6 separate regions of the Homo sapiens genome follow, and all the other regions are linked to region 1. The links are contacts of gene promoters, found by promoter capture Hi-C in blood cells and fetal thymus (Javierre and others, 2016). All regions are on one chromosome and are shown on one strand. Each heading gives the region's core, a stretch centred on a gene start or on the middle of the fragment in contact. The rest is flanking DNA. Distances are from core to core; before and after follow the strand shown. Region 1 holds the start of PRICKLE2-AS2 (PRICKLE2 antisense RNA 2). Region 2 overlaps LOC105377123 (a long non-coding RNA gene). Region 3 overlaps LOC105377123 (a long non-coding RNA gene). Region 4 has its middle 6.5 kb from the start of PRICKLE2-DT. Region 5 has its middle 36 kb from the start of PRICKLE2-DT. Region 6 has its middle 53 kb from the start of PRICKLE2-DT.

What was found. Contacts are between HindIII fragments. The CHiCAGO score rates a contact against its expected background, and 5 or more counts as called.
Region 2: a contact is called between a fragment that was not itself captured here and the fragment with the promoter of PRICKLE2-AS2 in region 1, in 2 of 17 cell types (endothelial precursors and megakaryocytes). The highest score is 7.6, in endothelial precursors.
Region 3: a fragment that was not itself captured here is called in contact with the fragment with the promoter of PRICKLE2-AS2 in region 1 in 1 of 17 cell types (naive B cells); the score reaches 5.0 in naive B cells.
Region 4: a contact is called between a fragment that was not itself captured here and the fragment with the promoter of PRICKLE2-AS2 in region 1, in 1 of 17 cell types (megakaryocytes). The highest score is 5.1, in megakaryocytes.
Region 5: a fragment that was not itself captured here is called in contact with the fragment with the promoter of PRICKLE2-AS2 in region 1 in 1 of 17 cell types (megakaryocytes); the score reaches 6.3 in megakaryocytes.
Region 6: a fragment that was not itself captured here is called in contact with the fragment with the promoter of PRICKLE2-AS2 in region 1 in 2 of 17 cell types (megakaryocytes and endothelial precursors); the score reaches 9.3 in megakaryocytes.

What each region holds. Positions count from the first base shown.
Region 1 is chr3:64,101,733-64,105,781 of GRCh38, forward strand. It overlaps PRICKLE2-AS2 (PRICKLE2 antisense RNA 2), which reads left to right and starts at 1,738. Exons shown (of 4, transcript NR_046701.1): 1 at 1,738-1,772; 2 at 2,761-3,001; 3 at 3,987-4,049. All of the region lies in intron 7 of PRICKLE2 (prickle planar cell polarity protein 2), which reads right to left. PRICKLE2-AS1 (PRICKLE2 antisense RNA 1) reads left to right here. Exons shown (of 3, transcript NR_045697.1): 3 at 1-1,399. The HindIII fragment of the contact is 2,788 bases long and covers 587-3,374 here.
Region 2 is chr3:64,482,035-64,486,083 of GRCh38, forward strand. The region is part of intron 3 of LOC105377123 (a long non-coding RNA gene); the gene reads right to left. Among named protein-coding and RNA genes, the nearest start is that of PRICKLE2-DT, 39 kb to the left of the region's middle. The HindIII fragment of the contact is 1,958 bases long and covers 774-2,731 here.
Region 3 is chr3:64,456,025-64,460,073 of GRCh38, forward strand. It overlaps LOC105377123 (a long non-coding RNA gene), which reads right to left. Exons shown (of 8, transcript XR_940913.3): 6 at 3,266-3,380; 7 at 851-969. It overlaps PRICKLE2-DT (PRICKLE2 divergent transcript), which reads left to right. Exons shown (of 4, transcript NR_183714.1): 4 at 1-46. Among named protein-coding and RNA genes, the nearest start is that of PRICKLE2-DT, 13 kb to the left of the region's middle. The HindIII fragment of the contact is 3,013 bases long and covers 354-3,366 here.
Region 4 is chr3:64,436,761-64,440,809 of GRCh38, forward strand. No RefSeq gene overlaps it. Among named protein-coding and RNA genes, the nearest start is that of PRICKLE2-DT, 6.5 kb to the right of the region's middle. The HindIII fragment of the contact is 2,806 bases long and covers 397-3,202 here.
Region 5 is chr3:64,407,358-64,411,406 of GRCh38, forward strand. No RefSeq gene overlaps it. Among named protein-coding and RNA genes, the nearest start is that of PRICKLE2-DT, 36 kb to the right of the region's middle. The HindIII fragment of the contact is 5,040 bases long and covers 1-4,049 here.
Region 6 is chr3:64,390,280-64,394,328 of GRCh38, forward strand. No RefSeq gene overlaps it. Among named protein-coding and RNA genes, the nearest start is that of PRICKLE2-DT, 53 kb to the right of the region's middle. The HindIII fragment of the contact is 844 bases long and covers 1,980-2,823 here.

The DNA.
Region 1 (4,049 bases), core at 488-2,987:
AGATTTGGAAAGTCATTTTATAACCATTGGAGGTAGAGTGCTTCACACAAGAATCAAAAAGTGTGCTAAATTTAGGGGGTAAAATTTGATGGGGGAGAGCATTGTTTTAAAGTGTTTCCCTACACATTGCTTATTAGTTGCAAGGGAAGAATTAGTAACTAAACAAAGGTAAAATCAGACAACACCTTGACCTTAAGTTCAAACTTAACATCCCTGGTGAGATGCAACTGCACCCTGCATGCCTCCAGTTGAGATGTACTCAGAAGGGCACACTATCCCTTATGTAGTATTCCAGTCAAGAATGTATTACCCGAATGCATTCAGGAGGAAACATTAGACAGATGCCAAAAGGAGGGACATTTGTTATGAAAAAAGGGACTGTAGTCTTAAGACCAGACAAGACTGAGAGAATGTTCTAGATGAAAGGGTACGAGGGAAACATGGCAATTACATATAATACCTGATCCTGGACTGGAACCTGCTCTTTAGGGAAACTAAATGCTATAAAGTAGGGGTTCCCAGACCTCAGGCTACAGACTGGTTAGGAGCAGGGCCACACAGAAGGAGGTGAGTGGTCAGTAAGGGAAGCTTCATCTGCATGTACAGCCACTCCCCATTGCTCCAACTACTGCCTGACCTCTGCCTCCTGACAGATCAGCAGCAGCATTAGACTCTCATAGGAGTGTAAACCCTGTTGTGAACTGCTCATGCAGGATCTAGGTTGTGTGCTCCTTACGAGAATCTCATGCCTGATGATCCATAACTGTCTCCCATTACCCCTAGATGGGACTGTCTAGTTGCAGGAAAACAAGCTCAGGTCTCCCACTGACTCTACCTTAAAGTGAGTTGTGTAATTATTTCAGTATATATTACAATGTAGTAATAATAGAAATAAAGTACATAATAAATGTAATGCACTTGAACCATCCCAAAGCCATCCCCACCCCCTGGCCCCAGTCTGTGGAAAAATTATCTTCCATAAAACCGGTCCCTGGTGCCAAAAAGGTTGGGGACTGCCTCTATAAAGGATAACTTTTGGTCAACTGAAAAAAAAATGGAACATGGGCAATAGATAAAAGTATTATGCTAAATTTACTGTGGTCAATTAATAATGGTGATAATGTGGGAGAAGATCTTTACTCTTGGGAAATATATATGGAAGGATATGGTGGTAAATGGCCCAGATGGATGCAATTTGCTCTCAAATGGTTTATAAATAAAATGTGTGTGTGTGTGCGTGTGTGTGCATGCATGTGAACATGAAAGAACAAATGTGGCAAAAGGTTAACAATGGATCAATCTACGTAAAGAGTACATTACAGGTGTTGTTTGTTCTATTTTTATAACTTTTTTTAAGTCTGAAATTATTTCCAAATAAAAAGTTTCTTTAACATTAGAATATATTCATCTGATATGATGGTTTTTAATTCTGAAGGAAATTTGGAAACATCTGGACACATTTTTGGTTGTCACTATTAGGATGGGATTCTCCTGGCGTCTAGTAGGTAGAGGCCAGAGATGTTGCTAAACATCCTACAGTGTGAAGGATGGCTTCCTTGCCTCCACACAGAATTTTCCAAACCAAACTGTCAACAGTCTCAGAAGAAACCCTGATAAAATGGAATATTACACAATAATGAGAACGAATAACTACACCCAAGAACATGGATGTATCTCATAGAAAATGCTTGGACATGCAAAAAGAATATGTGCTGTATGATTCCATTTATATGAAGTTCAAGAACAGGCTGAGGCTATCTATAGTGATACAGGTCAGGGCAGTGGGAGGAGGGGGTATGAAGAAGGCTTCTAGGGCACTGCAATTGTTCTATAACTAAATCTGGATGGTGGCTGTAAAACAATACACATGTGTAAAAATTCACTGAGATGTAGTTTTAATATTGGTTTGCTTTATTCTGTGTAAATTATATCTCAATAAAATGGAGTAAAAGTAAAGCAACGTTTGGCCAGGTGTGGTGGCTCATGCCTGTAATCCCAGCACTTTGGGAGGCCAAGGAGGGTGGACTGCTTGAGCTCAGGAGTTCAAGACAAACCTGGGCAACATGGTGAAACCCTGTCTCTACTAAAAATACAAAAATTAGCTGGGCATGGTGGTGCGTGCCTGTAGTCCCAGCTACTTGGGAGACTGAGGTGGCAGTATCACCTGAGCCCAGGAGGTGGAGGCTGCAGTGAGCCGAGATTGTGCAACTGTGCTCCAGCCTGGGCAACAGAGCGAGCCCCTGTCTCCAAAAAATAAACAAATAAATAAATAAAAAATAAAACAATGTTTGTTAAAGGGTCAAATTTTAACATTGGATATGCCTATAAAGAAATTAATCAGCTAAATATCATATACTCCAGTAATTTTTTGTTTCAATTTCGTTCCTGGGATAACTGTCAGGGCAATAGCAGCTGGGGCCTCCAATCGCTTGCTTACTCTGCTGCTTATCTCTTACATACAAATCATAAAAGCCGATTTACAACAGCCTAATCACTTCCAGAGCCTCCCCAATATGAAAGCAGAGAGGAGAGGATAACAACCTAAGATGATGAATGAGTGGTTTGAGTGGATGAACTCTAGTAAGAAAGGAAAGAAAACATCTTCAAACTCATGTCTAGAAACAAAAGGTGGACACAATGATCTTTGCAGGGCTTTCCAACCTAGCTCTTGAGTAGAATTAGGGTCAGCATAAATAACTTAGCAAATACTATTAATTCCCCAGCATGCTGTTTTCCCGAACCTGTCTTTCATAAGCCCAGAAGTGAAATGTTTTTGAGAGCATCCTGCTTGTGAACAGATTCCTATTTCCGTGAGGAGGTGACCTCGAAGAAGAGCAGCTTCTATTCTGCTGGGAGGTGTACTGCCTTCTGGTATCAGGCTTCTGCATCCCGGGAAAGCTCGGGATAACCTGAGGCACCCCCTTGAAAAACAAAAGAGCTTGATCAGAGCAGGAGGGTCCTGTTGCACAAGCCCAGCATCTACTATCAGTTTCACCTAAATGTAAGCCATTCATTCCCCTGGACTATGTGTGGGTGGGACTGGAAATACTACCTGCTCACTCTAGAGAGGAGAAATGCCTCTCTTCTGATTCATTAACTCAGATTTTCCTCCAGGGTCTTCTTGCATGCAGGGCATGAACAGAAAGGCCAATGTTGACCAAAGATGAGCAATAACTGTGTACTTGCCTCTAGAAAGGGTAGTTCTGTGGTTACTTTCATTACTGGCAAAATCTAGAATCCTTACGCAGACCTTAAGGCCCTACGTGACTTGGCTCTCTTCTCTTTCTCCAAGATAATCAACTAAACACTCCTCCTCGCTTAACTCTGCTTCAGCTGTGCTTACATTCCTCCCTGTCTCCCCAAACACAACAATAAGCTTATTCCAGCAGGCCTTGGAAAACTCTTCCCTTTGCATGCCTGACTTCTGTTTGTTAAAGTCCTCGTGTAGATGTCACCTCCTCAGCAGTGTCATTTCTGAACACTCCTTCTAAAGTAGCAAAGTTAGTTGTCTTCTGGCCAACCACTCACTATTGCACTTGACCCTTTTTTAAACTACTCACCCTGACTTATTAAGGTCATATGTAAGTTTGTAGCTGAATGAATCCCCTGGGAGCCAGGATCTTCTCCCTACTCTTCACTGTATTCTTGCAGAGCTAGCAGTGCCCAGTACCCTTTGGTGCTCAATACATACTCATGGAATAAACGTAAATGGATTCTCATGTTACCCACAGCTTGGAAAAAAGCAACCACCCTCCAACCTGGAGTGGGTCAGTGCTGTGATCCACATGGGTGGGATTCCAAACATCCAGAAAAAAATACCATGATCACACCTGTCAATCTCCATCTCTGGTGATTCATTATATAGCCCACCATCTGGGGTTTCTCCAATTTTAAAGTCAAAGTACACGTGATTTATAATGAGCTCCCTGCACTGCAGAAATGTTTTCTCCTTACTAATCACAGCTCTGTTGATGTGTTTAAATTAGCAGCTGATACTGTCCCCAAGATGGAACTGTACTGTCACAGGTCACACTCCAACTTGAGAAGCA
Region 2 (4,049 bases), core at 503-3,002, 380 kb after region 1:
GAGGGCTTTGAGGTATAGTGAAGGGAAAAGTTAAAAATACAAAAAGCAAAAGCAGCTCCTTTCATGGGGCTGTTTGTTGTCAGAGCCATAGGTCTTGTTCAAGGAGCTGTGATCACCGCTACTTCATGTTGGTAGCTAGGGCACCCAGATAGAGTACAAGTCTTCAGAATGGTGAGGAGCAACGAATGGCTCTGCCCTGTACAGGTAAGAAAGGTTCTGCCTGGTATAGGTAAGAATGTCCGCCCTGTGGCCAGAACAGGATGCTCTGGAGGAGAGGGGCTTGGTCTTAACTGGGTCAGAGCCAGGTTAGGAAATGGACCAGCAGCCCAGGGGGCCAGTCCACAAGGACCACTACACATCACTGGGATACTTTGGAAATAAGATGTCTATTAACTCAGATTTTTCTTAAACCACAGGTGGAATGCAAATTGGTCCCAATATTGACTAGAAATTATCTTCAGATAGAAGCAAATGGCAGTGTCAGCCAATGCAGACCTACCTCTGGAGAAAATGTTTGCCACTAGCTTTTATAAACTGCAAGATTCAACTATGGAACATGCAAGAATTGCCAACTGACCATCACTTAAAAACAAAATCTGGATAGATAAAATTTTGGAAGTGAGAAATGCATGATATAGTGCTGCTTCCTGGGGGGCCAGTTGTTTTGTTATTTATACTTTGAACCTTTAAAATCTTTTGGCGCAGCATGCTGGCTCATGTCTGTAATCCCAGCACTTTGGGAGGCCAAGACAAGCAAGTAACTTGGTCCCAGAAGCTTGAGACCCACCTGGGCAACATGTGAAACCTTGTCTCTACAGAAAAAACACAAAAATAGTCTGGGTGTGGTGGTACATGCCTATAGTCCCAGCTACTTGGGAGGATGAGGTGGAGGATCATCTGAGCTCCAGAAAGTTGAGGCTGCAGTGAGCTGAGATCTCACCATTGCACTCCAGCCTCGGCAACAGAGTGAGACCCTGTCTCAAAAAACAAACACACAAAACAAAAGAGAGAGAGAGAGAGAGAGAATAAACTTTCTAAGCAGTTGTCTGATTTGTGAAATTGCAAAAAAAAATTTGAAGAGGGGGCACAGAAAAGGAGGAAGTGTTCTTTAGTCAGTGAATAGATGAAAGGAATTTGTATTGAACACACACGTTATTCACTTGAACACATTTGTTCTCTGTCCCCATCGAATACAGGCTGAAGAAATATTTAGAGAATTCTGGCTTGAAAGGGTAAAAAACTAACAACCTGCCCCAGTCAGTCCCCCATGGTTACTGAACTCTGGAAGATTTTGCTGGAGAAGTCTGAGAGTCCAGTTCTACAATTTTACACAATTTGTTAAATGTAAAACATTGCTTTGGCTTCACTTACTGATTTTCCTTTCTCTCCCATTTCTGACTAACTCAAATTTACTGGGTGCCTGCTATATGCCAGGATCCAAATGTTGAACATAACTTATTTTGTTTCATACCCAAGGGGCTGTAAAGGACACACAGACTGTGAGCGCAGACACATTTTAGACTTGCACTGTCCAATACGGTAGCCACTGGCCACATATGGTTATTGAAATTTACATTTATTGTAATTAAGTAAAATTTAAAATTCAATCTCTCAGTTGCACTAGCTATGTATTAAGCACTCAATAGCCACATGTGGTTATGACTATGCTGCTGGACAGCACAGTTATAGAGCATTTCTATCACTGCAGAGAGCACCATTGGATAGCACAGTTTTAGACCTTTCAGAGTTGTCTCTACCTCCTGTGAAATCATTTTAAGCAGAAAAGCTGCCATTCATTGAGCACTCCTCTGGGCCAAGCAAGCAAGATTCTGGGTCAGTTACATAAGATCATCTCACCACAGCTCACTGCCTCACGTCTCAACGCATTTTAATTTTTTTTTTTTTTTTTTTGTAGCGCCGTGGTCTCACTTTGTTGCCCAGGCTAGTATCGAACTCCGGGCTTCGAGCAGTCCTTCTGCCTCAGCCTCCCAAAGTGCTGGGATTACAAGAGTGAGCCATTGGGCCCAGCCTCACCCCATTTTAGAGATGAGGAAACCTGAGGATAGAGAGGCCAAGTAGCTTTCTTACCATCGCACAGCAAGTGAGCGGCAAAGCCCAGGGCGTTTGACTTTAAAGGCTTTGATAATTCTGATGGCCCCACCTTCCAAGGGCATTACCCCCAAGTGTGAGTGAGAGCACCACTGTGGACAAGAAAGAGCCGCTGGGGATCCTGGCCCTTTTGACAGGAAAAGTGGCCATGGGGTCAGACAGGCTAGAGGACCAAGGCTGGTTCTGCCAATGACCATGTCAGTGACATTGCCCAAGCCACTTAGATCTCTGAATATATGTACAGTGGTGGAGCTCACCTTGTAGAGCTATGAGGATTAAATGAGAATATACACATAAGCACTTGGCACAGTATCTGGCACACAGTAGCCATTTAGTACATGGCACACATGAGTATTACTTCCGGAGTGAATCCTTTTCTTCTGTTTAAGCAGCAAACAGCAAGAGTTGCCTTGCTCCCTGCAATACACATTTCTGAGTCTGGCATGCCACCTGCTGGTCACTCCTGGATATACCATCCAGTCCCCTGTTCTCCCCAGAAGGGCCAGTGCCCAGAGTGTTCCCAGGAGACTGGGCTGTAAAACAGGAACATCCTAGCTGAGTATTCAGATTTTTTTTTCGTAAAGTCCCTTTCACATTGTGGCTCCTCTGAGAACTTAGGATAAGCTTAGATCTTGCTAAGTTTGCTGAAATCTTCTTTGTTGCCAGGCAGATAGAGAAGATGGACTTCTTTGGGGCCCTGTGCTCAACGTTAGGCTATGTTGCCAGGGTCTTCTAGCTGCAGGCTATCTAAAAGCACAGGGTCTTTACTATTATGGCTGGCATTCCCTTCGATCTGATGCTGAATATAAGTCCCACCTCTCCACCCCATATCCTATCAATCTAAAAGTCCTGTTGGGTTTTTCTCTGTGAAATATATTTAAAATCTGTCTAAGCCCCTTCATATTCTCTGCCACCATCATCCCTCACCTGGACCACTGCATTAGCCTCCTGATCTTCTTGCATCTCCTCCCTTCCCCCTGTTGTCTATTCTTCACGCAGCAGCTAGAGCTGTGGTCCTACCTGCTGTAGCTATGGAATGCCTTGGGGAACATTCAAGACCTACCAACACCCAGGGGCCAAACCCTGACTAATTAAATCAGAATCTAGGGGTAGTGGGTAGAAGGTCTCTCAACATTCGTAGCTCATGAAAGCTCCTGGATGATTCTTTTTATTTTTATTTTTCGAGACAGAGTCTTGCTCTGTCACCCAGGCTGGAGTGTAGTGGTGCCATCTCGGCTCACTGCAACCTCAACCTCCCAGGTTCTAGCGATTCTCTGGCCTCAGCCTCCCAAGTAGCTGGGACTATGTGTGTGCCACCACACCCAGCTAATTTTTTGTATTTTTAGTAGAGATGGGGTTTCACCATGTTGCTCAGGCTGGTCTCAAACTCCTGACCTCAAGCGATCTACCTGCTTTGGCCTCCCAAAGTTAGATGATTCTTTTGTGCATCCAGGATTGAGAATCACTGAGCTTCCAGTTCAGACCAGCAGTAGCAGCATCTCCTGGAGGGCTTGTTAAAATACAGACCGCTGAGTTCCACTCCCAGAGCCTGTGATTCATCAGGCCAGAAGTGGACCTGCGAATTTCCATGCCTCACAAATTCCCAGGTGACCCTCCTGGGCTGAGGTTCACACTTTGAGAACTACTGTTGTAAAAATATAAGGTGGACCATGAAACTCCTGTTTAAATGACTTATTACACTTATATATGTATATTTTAAAAATTCACCTTCTGTACCATGGCCTGTCAGGCAGGGTGAGACCTATCAATCTAGAAGTCCTGTTGGGTTCCTAGCTCCTGGCCTCTCACACCCTCTGCTAACCACTCACTGGCCTCCTATCTGCCTCTTGACCACCGCAGGTGGTCACCTGAAGACCTTTGAAAGAGCCTTTCTCTGCTCAGATGGTGCCCCCTTTAGCTCTTCTGCTGTCTGATTGTCT
Region 3 (4,049 bases), core at 610-3,109, 350 kb after region 1:
TTTAACCCTTTCCTGTCATTTTCAATAAAGGGAATTTTGTCTTTGATATCTGCTTCTCCTTTCCCCAGTTTCTGGCTTAAAAAAATGCAAAATCAGGATGTTGGGCAAAAAGAAACAGGCCCAGGTAGAACGGAAGAAAGGAGGAAAGATTTTTGTTAGACATTTCATGGGCTCTCCTTTGTTGTGAAAAGTCTGGGTAATGGGCAAGGCAGAGAGAGGGATGAAGGCAGTCAGACAGGCAAAATCAACCTAAATACTGTATTGCTGAGAGAGAACAGAGGTCAAAGACAGAGAGCTTGAAAAGGCAAGTGGGCTGCTCTTGGAGATGTTTGGGTTTGGGGTGGTGAATGAGAAGCTTTGGTATAATTGAGAAAATCAAGAAAGAAAGAGAAAAGGATTTTGAGAAATGCTACCATGGGTTATCAGTTGGGCCCCTTATAACGTTCTCTGGGTATTGCAGGTAAAGTTTCCATTGTAATTATTTTCGCTTTGGAAGATGTGGCTCTACGCAGAGATTGGACTACATGGGGCCTTGCGATTTATTTGGGTTACACTAACAAAATGTCTCCATTTTTTGCTCCCTGAATTGGAGGAATCTAGAGTATATGAAAAAAAAAAAAAGAATTACAATAGGCACAGCAGTCCGAGAATGGAAAAGCCTAGCTCTTGAGGAAGAGAATTTTCCATCTCTGCAAGTGTTCAAGTAATCACCTATTGTGACATTGAGGAGGGAATGCAGGAGCTGTAGGGAAGTGGGTTCCTCAACCTGGCTGAGCATCAAAAGAATCACAGCTTTCACAACCCACAGCCCCAGGCCCCTTCTATTTCTGTCATGTTGTGGAGCACTGACCTTTTACAAAAGCTCTCCAGGGGATTCAGAGCTTTGGGAACCAATGATGCCAAGAGCTGGGCAACGTGATCTCTACTGCTGCTTCCAAGCCTGACAGCATTATCCTCCACGAACCTCTCCTTTGTAAAAGCATAACATCATAGGAGTATTTAGCCAAAGCACATTCTGTTAAAAGGGAAGTGTGCTTAAAGGATCTCTCAAATAAGTAAAGAGAAATAGAAGGAACAAAGTCACTGTGAAGTTACATCCTGCTTCTTTTTGGGTCTCCTTGGATGATATTTTAGACACATTAAACTAGTCCACTGATTTATTTATTTTAAGGGCTTTTTTTTTTCCAGGGCTTTGGGGCTCCACGCTTTCTCTGCATTCACTCCTAAAACTCCTTTAATGAGAAAATAGTGCCAGGTGGAAAAACAAAAATAGAGAAGAGGTTCTCAGACCAGTCACAAAAATTATTCTAGAATCCAGGTAATTGTGGTTGAGAGCTGTATCTGGAAAACGGTGAGTAAATTACACTTTTGTAAATGCAGCCATATGTGGAAAGCTGTGAGGCAGCTCCTTATGAAAAAGGCTAAGTTAGAGGAAACTTTCTATAAACCGAGTGGATATCAAGATTTTTATCTTTAAGGTTTTCCCCTGAATTGCAAAAGTAATATGTCTATTTTAGAAAATATGGGACACACACTTAGAAAAACAGAAAAAAAAACTTAAAGTACACATAATTCCATCACTGCAAGAAAACAATTTTAAATATTTTGGGGTATAGCCTTCCAGATGAACACATATATACACACATATATACCTATAAATATGTACATGTAATAAACCTTTTTCAAAAAATTGGGATCCAACTATACCTATTTCTTTGCAACCTGCTTTTTCCCCCCACTTCATCTGTCATGATTATTTTCTCACACCACAAATACTTTTCCACAGCAGTTTCCAAAGGCTGCATAAAATTCTATCCCATTAAACCCCATTGTTGGACATTGAGGTTGTTTCTAATTTTTGACATGATAAATAATGCTTCTCATCTGCATCAGTATTATTTTAGATGAAGACACACGCGGATATACCCAGCGATGCCAAATAAAACAGTGCCATTGCTAAATGTGATCTCATGTTTTATGCATTCTAAAATATTGAAGCTGTGGTTTGGGAACTGGTTAACTGTGGCTCCAGTGTGCGAATATACCACTTCTTCTGGGGCTGAGCTGCGGCCAGCCAGGTCACCTAGGGGGGTGGGGGTCAGGAGATAAGCACCTCCCCTCAGGTGCTCCAATTCCTTGGGCTCAGAAAATCTCTCTCTGTCCTTCCAATAATAATATTCAAGGGAAAGAAATGAGGGAAAAAATTTGATGGCTTCTGTTTCAGGTTGAATTATGCCACCCCCACCCCTCCCCCCGCAAATTCATATGCTCAAGTCCTAATCCCTGATATCTCAGAACGTGACTGTATCTGGAAATAGAATCTTTAAAGGGGTAAGTAAGATAAACATAGGTCATTCAGGTGGCTCCTTACCTAATATAGCTGGTGTTCTTATAAGAAAAGATCAGGACACAGACACACAAATACACACACACACACACACAGGGAAGACCATATGAAGACACAGGGAGAAGACAGTCAACTGCAAGCCAGGGGGAGAGGCCTCAGAAGAAACCAGCCTTGATCTTGGACTTCCAGCCTGCAGAATTAGGAGAAAATAAATGTCTGTTTTTTAAACCACCCAGTCTGTGGTACTTGGTTATGACAGCCCTAGCAAACTAAGACAGCTTCCTAACACATCTTCAGAGAAATGTTTCAGGTAAGTCAGAGTCCTAAGAGCAGGCAGCTGGAGAGTTAGAGTCAGAGAGAAGGGACTTGAAATGGAGGGTCTAGGACTCAGGAGTCACCTGATCTTCAGCATGCCCCTGCATGCTGAAATTTTTGGCTACGTATTACATATTGGCTACATAGTCAATACAGCTAATATGTGGCCAAAAATTTTAGCATCCCTGCCTCAGCATCCTCATCTTTATAGTAGAGACCAAACTCTTGTGATAAATAACACCCACTGTATTAGTCCGTTTTCAAGCTGCTGATAAAGAGATACCTGAGACTGGGAAGAAAAAGAGGTTTAATGGACTCACAGTTCCACATATCTGCGGAGGCCTCACAATCACGGCAGAAAGGCCAAAGGCACTTTGTACATGATGTTGGCAAGAGACAATGAGAGCCAAGCCACAGCAGAAGCCCCTTATAAAAACATCAGATCTCATGAGACTTATTCACTATCATGAGAATAATACGTGAGAAACTGCCCCCATGATTCGATTATCTCCCACCAAGTCCCTCCCATAACATGTGGGGATTATGGGAGCTACAATTCAAGATGAGATTTGGGTGGGGACACAGTGAAACCATATCACCCACCTTTTGGAGGATTCTGAGGATGCCAGACGTGAAAAGTGCCTGGCACAGTGCTTGGTATGTAGGAGGCATGGGATGAACTGTGTTAGCCAGTGGCCTGCACAAGCTTATCTTCACCCTGTCAAATAAAGTGAGTCTTAATTAACCATATAATATGTAAAAAGATAATTACACATTTGGAACTTTTGCTTTAAGGCAGATTCACTTTGTTTAGCCCACACAGTGCTTCTTAAAAACACTTCAAATTAGTTGCCAATATTTTAACAACAGGAGATTCTACACAAATTCTGGATTTCTGGCTATTTGAAAAATCAACAGATCTGGAAGCCCTAGGCCACCATTCTCTGGCTCACTGTGGTTCCTGGGCAAGGGATGTAGCTGTGTCACCTGCTGGCCCATGCAGCATTGAATCTGTAACCTAGACCCTAATGTATAAACTGATTTTTATAAATAAAAATACATACATGCATACACACGGAGAATAAATGTATGTGTGTGTATGTGTGTGTGTGTATGTATTCCTTAAGTCCCATGTCTCTTTGCTTCATTATTTCAACATCTTTTCTTTTTAAAAAAATTCACTTTGATTCCAGATTCATGACTTTGGTGTCTGATTCAACAAAACTGGTCTAAAAGCCCTATTGCACCATACACCCTAGAAATGTGGATGAAACTACAATTCCCCTAGTTTAACCTCTCATTTTACTCATGAGGCAATACGGCTAATACGTGGCTAAAAATTTTAGCCTTGAAAGGGGCCTCAGAAATTAGCTAGTCTTTGTAAAAC
Region 4 (4,049 bases), core at 550-3,049, 340 kb after region 1:
TATTAGCAGCATAAAAATGGACTAATACAGTGGGGAAGTAACTTGTTATAGATTATATAACCTACAATTTCCAGGCCCTTGAACCCAGATATTCTTCCTCCTCATGCACCCTGTCTTTATTAAACCCTCTTGAAACCACAAACATATATCAAGCCCAGGTTACAGGCCATGAACAGTGGGAGACACATTACATGCATTCCCTCACCACAACCTCACGAGACAAGCAGTAGTATCCCCATTTCTCTGATGAGAAAAATCAAGGCTCAAAAATATTAACTCATTTGCCCAAGGCCATTCAGCTAGTAAGAGACAAAGCCAAATCTACAATTCCAACAATGTCTTCAAAGCCAGTCCCTTTAACCACTCGGCTATAATCCTTTCATTTAAACCCTTACAAGCTTCATAGAAGTTTCTGTGACACTGGCTAGAAATATACATTTCCCCCAGAGATCGTTCCCCATGACTCTCCCATACACAGGCAGGTTCAACCCCTTTGATCTCAAAAAGCGCAAGATCTGGAAGTCATTCCCATTAGGGAATGCTTCCTCTCTCCATAGGGAAATCCCTCTGGGGTACTCATTAATCACATGGTTAAAGGATAACCTTTGAGTTTTTTGAACCAAGAAACCACGAAATAACAAATTTATTAGGCTCTCACTCATCCCAACAACCTTAAACTACAGAGGCATTAGGACGAATGACAACCTTTCAACAGAATGTGGGTATCGCTTTCATGGTTAAAAACAAATAAAATTTATTTTGAACAAAAGATGACTGACATCAGTGCTCTGTGTTTTCTCAGTAGTCATCAAGCACAAATTGTCACTCGGGGTGATTAAACAAGGATTAATTACCAGGTTGCTATACAAGTTGAGATGTTTCAAAGTTGCAGCCCAAAGAGCACATAAATGTACTCAAATTTTTAAAAGAATACGGGTGCAAATTGGCACCATCTTTTCAGAGGACAATTTGTCAAGAGCGCTTAAAATTTTAAATGTTAACCTCCTCCCACCTAGTAAGTCCAATTATACCACAGAAGCATAAAATTGGGTAAAAACACACAGGCATGTTGTAGCATGAGAAAAGCTATCATTATATGATATATAATTAGGAACAATGGAAAACAACCAACGTGGTCATGAAGGGAGAAATTTTGACTCAATCATAATCCATAGAATGGATTCGGAAAACTAATAAATACATTAGATGTTTTTGGCTTTTATATACTGACATGGAAAAATGTCCAGAAAGTATTTCTAAGTACGAAAAAAGTAAGCTATAAAAGGCAATATGTAGAATGTGTATTTTCTGTTAAAGCAATATTAATAAATAATCTGAATGAACCTAAGGAAATAATATCAGCCTATAAACAACATATATCTTTAGCTTAGGGGTGAGCAAACTGATTCTGTATAGAGCCAGATAGTAAATACTTTCAGTTTTGCAGGCCATAAGGGCTGTCTCAACTACTCTGCTACTGCAAAAGCAGCCTCAGATGTTACTAAATGAACAGGCATGGCTGTGTTCCAATGAAACTTTATTTATGGACTCTGAAATTGAAATTTTGTATCATTTTTACATGCTACAAAAATGTTACTCTTCTTTTGATTTTTTTTTTCAACGATTTAAAAATATGAAAACCCTTCTTAGCTAGCAGGCCATACAAATCAGGTAGCAGGCTAATTTTGTCCCACAGGCTGCAGCTTGCCAACCCCTGGTCTAGAAGGTATGAAAAAGAAGGGGTTCCTCCTCTATGATATGTATTTTTTAATTTCTGCACATGTGTGAGATATTTTAATATCTTTTAAAATAGTTATGTCTATTTCCAAAAACAAGTAATAATACAGATATACTGGCATAAACTGATATATTTCCTGTAGAGAAAAAAACCCTGTAAGGTATTTCAACTTCTATCAGGGGTATTATTAAATGCCAATGACATAAAGTGAGCCAACCTGCAACCTTCTTATCAGCTAAGTATCTTTCCCTGCCTTGATGTTAGGAATAACTCAATCTATGCTTCCCCCCACCCCCACCCCCTAAAACGCCTTTCCTTGTTTTCCATTTCTTGGCATGTCAGTGACTGAGGCAGAGTGTTTTTCCTCTCCAAGCAAAATAATCAGTGGGAACCCATTTCTTAGCCAAATTACAATCCATTAAAGGAAACCAGGCCGGCATCACCCCGAATTGCTGCCTCAGTCATCAATCAACACAATCGCCCAGGCAACTAAGGAGGGAGGCTTTTCAAGTCGCAGTCTTGGCTAGCCCAGTGAGTGCTGCCTCTGCAGCAACTGCATCCCGGCCAAAGCATCCCGGCTGGAAAGGCAGCCGTTGTCTGGAGACAAACAACTCTGCATAATTATAATGATCTCACAACACTACCCCTGCACTGGGCATTCCATGTCAGTTGCCCATGAAAGTGGGACTCCAGGAGGCTTGTTAGGAAAGCCCATCTTTTAATGCTCAAGTTGAATCTACATTTATCAGCAAAGCTGAAACGTTAAAGGGATTACAAGGGGCTTAGAATCCACTGGAGGTTCATTGATCTTGTCTTGCAAGGCTCATCTCCACACGCCCTTTAGAAAATGCTTTGGTCTGTTCCCTAGCTCTTTGGTTGCCTTTGATTTTACCACCATTCTCATCTGAGTTGGAGGGGGTGTTTCCTCTAGCCCTGATTCCAAAAGATTCTCAGATCCCTATATTCTAAACTAAGAGAAGCTATTTGCATGTTCCCCTAGGTAGTGATACAGACCAGGGGTCAGCAAATATTTTCTGTAAAGATCCAGATACTAAATATTTTAGGTTTTCTGGGCTATACAATCTCGGCTGCAGCTACTTAAGTCTGCCACTGCAGCACGAAAACCTGCTCATTCAGGATTTGCAAGCTCCAATCACTTCCAGTCCCTGACAGGTAACCTAAATATCTGAGCCACAGATAAGATGTAAGTAAATGAGTATGACTTTGTTCAGATAACACTTTTTTCTGGGTACCAAAATCTGAATTTCATGTAATTTTCATATGTTGTGAAATATTACATTCTTCTTTTGATTTTTTCCCCAACCATCTAAAAATGTAACTCATGAGCCATACAAAACAGGAAAAGGGTCACATTGGGCCAGCAGGCTGTATTTTACTGACACCAGTCTAGAGCTTTGCTATTCAAAGTGTGGTCCCTCAACCAGCTTCACAGCATCATCTTAAAGCTTGGTAGAAATGTAAAATCTCAGGCCCCACCTCAAATCTGTAGAATCAGAATCTGAATTTTGAACAAGAGCCCTCAGTAATTTGTATGCAAGTTTCAGAAGTCCCGGCCCAGAACACAGACTTCTGAAGTCAGATAGGGACAAAATACCATTAAGCAGTTGGCTGTGTAACCACAGGCAAATTACTTAACTCCTCTGAGACTCAGTTTCCTTACCTGTTAAAATGGATGTAAATAACTGCACTTACCTTCTAGGGCTGTCATGAATGATAAGGTGGAAAAGATGTAAAACACTTTCCTGGCATTGTCAAGCTTTAAAATGGTAGCTGATAGAGAAGCTTACTTTCTCTTTGGGGGAGATGAGATTGCTCATTCAGGATTTGCAAGCTTCAATCACTTCCAGTCCCTGACAGGTAACCTAAATATTTGAAGAGTTCCCTGAACTCAACTAGATTGCTGGAGAGGATGGTGAACTGAGGTCACGCCCATCTAAGGGGCAACTACTCAGCTCCTGCCAGATACTGTCGGAAATGCAGGAAAGTAGCCCTAATGTTACCTGGTCTTTGGATTTTTCAACAGAAGCCGGAAACCTGGGTTTATGTTAGAAAAAGCCTCCTTCTTTAATATGTTGCATGGATCAAACGAAACCTATCTGCAAGCTGGATTTGACTCAAGGGCTTCCAGTTTGTGAGCACTGCTTTAGAGCAAGTAACAAGAGGCAGTGACTCACAAGAAAATGAGCCAAATTTGGTTTGGAGCCAAATCCCAGCAGCATTCTCCCTAGCCAGGTGACCTTGGGTTAAGTTACTTAACAACCCTCAGCCTCAGTTTTCTCACCAGGAAAAT
Region 5 (4,049 bases), core at 1,100-3,599, 310 kb after region 1:
GTAAGCCCCAATCACCACGTCTACGGCATCTTTACAGGAGTCTCATAAATATGGACTAGAGCTACAGCTTAGGTAGGGCTTAGATTTTAAAGTCAGCACGCAATGTTAGGTCAAGTAGAGAGTGATCGACCAGGGGCATTTTGCCCCCAAGGGACATGTGGCAACATCTGAAGATATTTTTGGTTGTCACAGCCAGCATCTAGTGGGTAGACATCCAGGAAGCTGCCAAATGTTGTACAATGCACAAGAATGCTCCCACAATAAGAATTACCTGACTCAAAGTGTCAATAGTGCTGAGGTTCAGAAACTCTGGTGTAGAGAGAACATTCCCCTTAATGATCCATTTCAGAAATGATTTTGTAAATATTCCTCATGATCCACTTATGCCATCTTGCAGAGTGATAACCACCTCTCCTGGTCTATCCCAGCAGGTTTTTCTCCAGTGTTGAAACAGATGCTACTGCTTCAGTTGAAAACTAAAGAAAGTTGCTGGCTTGCACTAAAGGGCCATAGTGCATTAAAAAATATGTATCTTTAAACACTAACATCTCACTTAGCATGGCAAGAAGCCGACACCACCAGAGGCATTAAAAAACTGAAATCAACTAGAACTTGGAAAGTCATGTCCTTTCTGTCTTACTCACGCTGGGGCTAGGCACCTTGAGTAGAATGCCAGGCAAAAGTGTCCATGCATATCTAAATTATTAATTCTCTCTCACTGTCTTTCCCACAGGGATGAGTTGATTCAATGGGAACTCTCCTGTCACAATCTTGCCGAAAGAGCCAGCTTTCTCTCCACTGGATTCCCTCTATCCACATCCCCTAAATGCTTCCCACTTTCATGTAGGTAAAAATTCCACTATTAGAGATGCACTCCTTTGGATCCACCATTTCTCATATAAAATGAGCCCCTTAAAACGCAAATTTTCTTAGGAAATATAAATCTGCAGTAATTTTTATTTTAAAAACAGTGAGTAGCACCTTACCTTTAAGTAGAGAGGAGTTTCTTTTAACTCAGGAAATGAATTGGTATAAGAAAACTGGGCACCAAAAAGTGAGGGACTTTGTAGAAGGTGGGAAGTTGGATTGGCTTTATGGGGCCAAAAAAGAAGTCAAGAGTATTGAAAATAGTATCACCAGCTGTGTGACACAAGGCAAGTGACTTAACCTCTCTGTGTCTCAGTTTCCCCACCTATAAAATGGATTTAGCAGTGCCAGCCTCAGAAGGTTGTGGGTCAAGATCAAATTCCGTAATGCAGTAATACAGAACAGTTCTTGACCCATAGTATTCAATGAACAGTTTATAATTTTATTTAGGGCTGGCCATGATCCAGTTGAAAGAAGACTTCAAAATAAAGAAAAGAAAGCTGCTCGAGGAAGAATATCTACACATTGTACACACAGGTGGCATTCAATAAGCATGTGCTTAATGCTTCATTCATTCATTTACTCATTGCTTTGACCCAAATGCCTTAAACAGAACCCTAATTTTATACCCAGGATGGCAATAAATCTAGCTCAACTTCATTTCCTAATATCCCACACAGATGGTCATGTGACCACATTCTAGCCAGTGAGGTATATATAGAAGTCATGGGTGGATCTCCATGAAAGGAAGATGACTCAATTGAAACACTGCTTTCCCCTTTCCTTTTTCCTTTCTTTCTGCCTCAAACACAGTATAGTGATTGTGCAAGGTGGGGGAATGGGAGCTGGGCAGAAAGAAACCCTCTTGTCCCCTTGAGAATGAGAGGACACACTGAGGATGGATGAGCAGAGAGAGAAGCATGGGTTCCAGAGGAGGCATCAAGCTCGCATACAACTCCTGAATGCTCAACTGGCTGGGCGAGGTGGTTCATACCTGCAATCCTACCACTTTGGGAGGCTGAGGCTGGTAGATGACTTGAGCCCAGGAATTCAAGACCAGCCTGGGCAATATCACCAAATCTTGTCTCTACAAAAAATACAAAAATTAGCCTGGTGTGGTGGTGCACGCCTGTAGTCCCGCCTATTAATACTTGGAAGGCTGAGGTGGGAGGATCACCTGAGTCCAGGAAGTCGAGGCTGCAGTCACACCACTGCACTCTAGCCTGAGTGACAGAGTGAGACCCTGCCTCAAAAACAAACAAACAAACACACACACACACACACACACAACTAATTGCCATTTAAGCTACCCTTTGTTTTGAGAAGGTAGGGGTCTGTGTCACTGTAGCCAATAACTATACCGTGTTTATTTTACAATGTAGTGTCTATACCTGGTCATGTTTTTCTCATGGCTTCAACTACCAATCCTCAACTGTTGTCTTAGTCTGGTTTTTGGTGCAATAACAGAATACCTGAGGTGGTAATGATAAAGAACAGAAATTTAATTCCTTACAGCTCTGGAGATTTGAAAGTCTAAGATCAAGGCACTGGCATCTGGTGAGGGAGGGAGAGGGAGCACACATGAGCAACAGGGGGCCCAACTCCTCCTTTTATAAGGAACACTCTCCTGAGAGACGGCATTAGTCCTCTCACGAGGACAGAGCTCTCATGATCAAATCACCTCTCATTAGGCCTCACCTCCCAATACTGTTGCATAGGGGATTAAATTTCCAACACAGGCTTTTGGGGGGACACATTCAAACCATAGCAACTACCTTAACACTAAGGACTCTAATATTTTTATCTCAGGCCCTAGTCATAGTCTTAAACTAATCTAAGATAGGCCAGAATATCTCAATCAGAATGTCTACAAGTCACTCAACCCCATCTTATTCAAATTAGACTCTCTTTCCCCTCCCCACATCTTCTCTCCTCCTCTTCCTATCTTTCTTGTTTGAGGTATTCAGCATCACTCAGCTTCCCAATGGAGAACTTTTTCCTCTCTTTCAATCCTTCAATCGTGAATCAGTCACTGAATTTTCAGGATTCTTATCCTGAAACGGCTCACAGATTCAAGCCTCACACTGCTCCAGACTGGGCTATAAGAGGGGACAAGGGGTCAGGGGAAAGGGCAGATTCCAACAAAGGCCTTCACGGTGCTGTATTTTCCACCAAGAGCTCCGGATCATCATTTTTCTGGAGCTGACATTGGTGCCTGAGGCATGACTTTCAGTAAAGAGCAATACAACTGCCTCACGACATGTTTCACAACATTCAGCCTCTACGGTCAAAGCAAAGTAGGTAATTAGTACAATTATCCAGTCCATTGAGTCTGATATATTTTTCTATTCTGAATTCCCTGGGTGCTTGATGGCAGCCTTGACACATGGCCATGTATTTTAGGGAGTATTTTGGAGGTACTTACATCCTCCCCTCCCCAACCAGAGGAATTCATATAACTGGTAAATTAATGGTATAGTTTGAAAACATAGTTTTTCTGTTTCAATCTCACTCACTTTGAGTGAAATGGGATGATCTCGGCTCACTGCAACCTCCACCTCCCGAGTTCAAGCTATCCTCCCACCTCAGCCTTCCAAGTAGCTGGGATTACAGGTGTGCACAACCATGCCCAGGTAATTTTTGTATTTTTAGTAGAGACAGGGCTTCACCATGTTGGCCAGGCTGGTCTTGAACTCCTGACCTCAAGTGATCCGCCTGCCTCAGCCTCCCAAGGTGCTAGGATTACAGGCGTGAGCCACGGTGCCCAGCCTCAATTCATACTTTATCCCACCAGGATGAAATAAAAATTCAAAAGATTTATCGAAGGTCCAGTAAGGTTAGCCATCAAGAGAACCAGTAACAGCACAGTTTATCAGGCAATGAAGAGGGACTTTCCACGATGCAGATAATACTGCTCCTGCTGCCATCTTTTCAAGATACCAACCAGCGTCTGGTACTAGACTTGCATTTGGGAATAACATCAATCCATCTCAGCTGATTTCCTCTGTGATAACTTCATGACTATTTATGTGAAACTTCAAAGGCTAAGAAATGCTAAATAAACATGGAGACAAGTTGCCGAAATGTTAAACATTTGCCCCGGCTGACCTCACAAGATTTTGCTTGGGGAATTCTTCTAAGTCCATGTAAATTATCACTGGAAACCAAATGTGATGATAACA
Region 6 (4,049 bases), core at 1,152-3,651, 290 kb after region 1:
GTCAGCTCCTGAAGGGCAAGAACTACATCCTATTCCCTGCCATGCCCCTAGTTCCTAGCCCAGTCCCCACAACAGTGCCATTATTGTGCTAAATGAAATAGTTCAGGGCTGCTACCTGTCAGTCTTGAAAGGCAAAGGTTAGGCTGGGTGGCAAGTTAAATGTTCAATAATTATTTTTATTAAGTAGCCCTTTGTACTTTAAATTTATATTTATAAAATGTTCACTGTTTCTGTTTAGCTAATCACACGTGGCTTCTCCACCAAGGACATTACTGTGTATCCCTCCACTACCACCCTTCCACCAAGAACATCTGGAAATGTTTGGGGGCATTTTTGGTACTACGGGTATTTAGTGAGTGAAGGACAAATGTGTTCTATGTGTGATTCAGTTCTGTACCACAGAGAATTGATCCAACTCAGATGCCTCAGAAACACGGATTCTCTAATGAACTTAACTTTTCTAGAAAATGAATTTCTTAATGAAAACTCTCTCCAGTTTCCTCACTCTCTTTTACCTGTGTCTGGACATCTGGTCACAGGCTAGGTGTTTTCAGTGTCTAAATTATATTCCTCATAGATAGGCATGGATTAGTTACCTCTAAATGATTCCTCTTGCAAATCTATGCCTGTGAAGTTGGCAGCCTGGGGTGATAATTAAAATATTTAGTAACAAGCACCAAGAAATCAGAAGAGAGGTCTATGTAAATTAAGGGACTAGACTTTCTTCTTGCACACTGGTTATCAGCTATAGGAGTGGCACCCTTTGGTTAAAAGGCAAGATGTGGAATGTGGAGCCACTGGACAGTGGAAGGCAAGGGCTCAGGGAAGTCACATGCTCAAAGGAAACATCCATGGGCATATGATGGCATATTATGGTAACCAACTCACTGTCCAATGGGAGGACCACTCAGATGAAGAGTGAGGTCACTGAGCCACAAAATAAAGCTGAGTCATTTGGAACTTTTGGGTCTATACTGATTTATTAAAAGCATCTCAGGTAGGGTGAACAGGATCCCTTTTACTTGAGTGGCAGAAGAAATAAAAATTGAATGATGAAGGTCACCATAATTCATTAAGAACACTTAAACCTAACCCTTATTATACACTACCTTAAGTGACCTTCCCCAAAACCTTTTGAAGTAGGAATTATTTTCCCATTTCACGGATGAGAAAGTCAAGACCCAGAAAGCAAAATATCTTTCCTGAAGCCACAATATAAATAAGCAACAGTGTCTGAAATTAGAGTCCAGATACAGTCTGTGGTCTTTTATGAGTGGTGAAAAGAAAGGAAAGAAATGGAGAAAGAAACAGGAGAAATAAGGAAAAGAAACCAAGGAGGTATTCTATAATGTGCTATACCTGTTTGGAAAGTAAGCAAAATTATAAGGAATAAGAGAAGTAAAGTAAGGCTTTCTCCTCTATTTTCACTCCCAGGGGAATTCTCTTCTTTTTTTCCCAAAGCCAATGGCAGCTACACTTTCCTCACCAAGTTCTCCCAGCTCTAGGTCCACAAACCAAGGCAGATCTGTACCTTCTCAGAATTCCTTGAAGGCCCGAAGTCTGTGTCACATAAACTAGGTTTTGTCAAAATCTCACCCACCATTCAAACGCCACCTACTTCTTAGTGTCTCTCCTTAGATGTCCTCTTCTCTGCCCACTCTGTGCCATTTTATGGCCCCCTCCGCCTTTCCCAGCTGCAGTACCCTCACTCCCACTGGGACTTTGTCTTTCTCATGGTGACGTTTCCGCTGAATGCTGGCAGATGGATTCTCTTTGGGGGAAATTATGTCTGTAAGCATAATGTATCGTATCAAAGTATAAATGCTATCAGCATCATCACCACCACCACTGACTTAGTATCAGCCTCGTACAGTGTGCCAGGCACTATGCCACATCCTTTAGGCCTGGTTGAATAATCTTCATTCCAACCCTATGAAGCAATGACTATTATTACTGCCTTTTACACATGTGAAAACTAAAGCTTCAAAAGATTACATAGCTTGTCTGGTATCACACATGTCTCTTTCTCTTTTCGCAGTCCACGGAGAGCAAACTAGCAACCTGTAAATACTTAGTGGAACATAATTCATTCATCCATTTGCTCATTTGTTGGTTCACCCATTCATTACATGCCAGACAGTTGATAAACAAAATAAGAATAAGTCCCACCCACTGCCCTCTAAGCAATCATAGTCAAGTGGGAGTTTGACTTTCCCCCAAACAAGCACTTAGTAGAAGGTGCAATAATGGGGGAGGTTCAGGTCCCTAAACAGCTCAGGGACCAGGCATCCCAAAGGAGGTAGATTCAGGTGGTCATGAGTGTTTTCCCTGCTAAAGTCCCTGGCAATGGGGTCTTCTGGTGAATGTCCCCAGTTTGTAGAATACTCAGGGCAAGAATGACTTGCCCTTTGGTACTATCCTGTGTCCTCAGCAGCAGAGCACACAAGAAGTCCACATCACTCCTGTACCAGCCACTGTCACCTCCAAGAGTTTGCTTTGTAGTGATCTGAGGGCCCAAGCTCTCACTATTCTACGCAATTATAAGTAGAATCCTGCAGAGAAACAAAGTCCCCTTCCTTATTTTTACAGAGGATTGTTTGTGGCACTTACAAGCAGCTTCAAATGAGTACACAGGTTTTATTTCCCTACAGACTTTAACAACATCCTGCCATGAGATGAAAATCTGGTAGGCACTCCTGAAAATCTGCCAGCTTGCAGCTACATTCCCTTTAAGGCTTAAACATATTTGGAAAATAAATTTTTTTAAACATTTTTTTAAAAATTCAATACTTCTGCTGTAGAAAAATTGACCACCAGAAATCAAGCTTCCAAACCTGGTTTTATGAGTTACCTGTGGCATAACCATGCCAGATGCAAGACCTTTGCAGCAATTATTTTCCATGCATCTACAGAGTTCAGCCTATCTAGGCTGCATGCCCTCACACACCTGGGGGTTGGCTGACTACGGCTCAGTCTGGCCGGTCTACTCTGCTCTACTGCGTGTGCCTCTCATTCTTTCCCTGGAATGGTCAGCTCACTAGGCACATCTTTCTTGTGATGATGGGGGAGTGGAAGAGCGAGAGCAGAAGTATGTCTGCACTTCCTCAAGCCTCTGTTTGCCTCAGGTTTGCTGATATCCTATTGACCAAAGCAGTCCCATGGCCATGGGTGAGCTCGGAGTCAGAGTGGGAGGGCAACACAAATAGCATGGACAGGAGGAGCAAGGAAGAATCAGGGTGACTGATGTAATAAGAGACCATGCTAGTCCTGGTAAATTAGAGAGACAGTGGCCATATGCTCTAAAACCCACAGTAGGCTCGACTAGGATTTTTATGTTCTTCCAGCTGAAAAACACATCCTGGGAAGAGCAGTCTAGATGGCAAAAGGTGGACATTTCTGAGATGTGTTGCTGGTGTATTCCAGTTGATACATGAGTCACGTGGAAAAATACAGTCAGCCATTCGTATCCGTGGGTTCCATATCTATGGATTCAACCAACTAAGGATCAAAAACTTTTTTTTAAAAAAACCCAATAAAGGCCAGCATGGTGCCTCACGCCTGTAATCCCAGCATTTTGGGAGGCCGAGGCGTGCAGATCATCTGAAGTCAGGGGTTTGAGACCAGCCTGGCCAACACGGTGAAACCCCGTCTCTACTAAAAATACAAAAATTAGCTGGGCACAGTGGTAGGCGCCTATAATCCCAACTACTCTGGAGGCTAAGCCAGGAGAATTGCTTGAACCAGGAGGCAGAGTTTGCAGCGAGCCGAGACTGCGTTATTGCACTCCAGCCTTGAAGAGTGGAACTTTGTCTCAAAAAACAAAACAAAACAAAAAAGGCGATAAAAATAACAATACAGTAATAAAAATAATACAAATTTTTAAAATGCAGTATAACAACTATTTAGATGGCATTTACATCATATTAGATATTATAAATACCTCAGAGATGATTTAGAGTATGTGGGAGGATCAGCATAGGTTATAAGCAAATACTATACCATTTTATTCCATGGACTTTAGCATCCTCAGATTTTGGTATCCCCAGGGG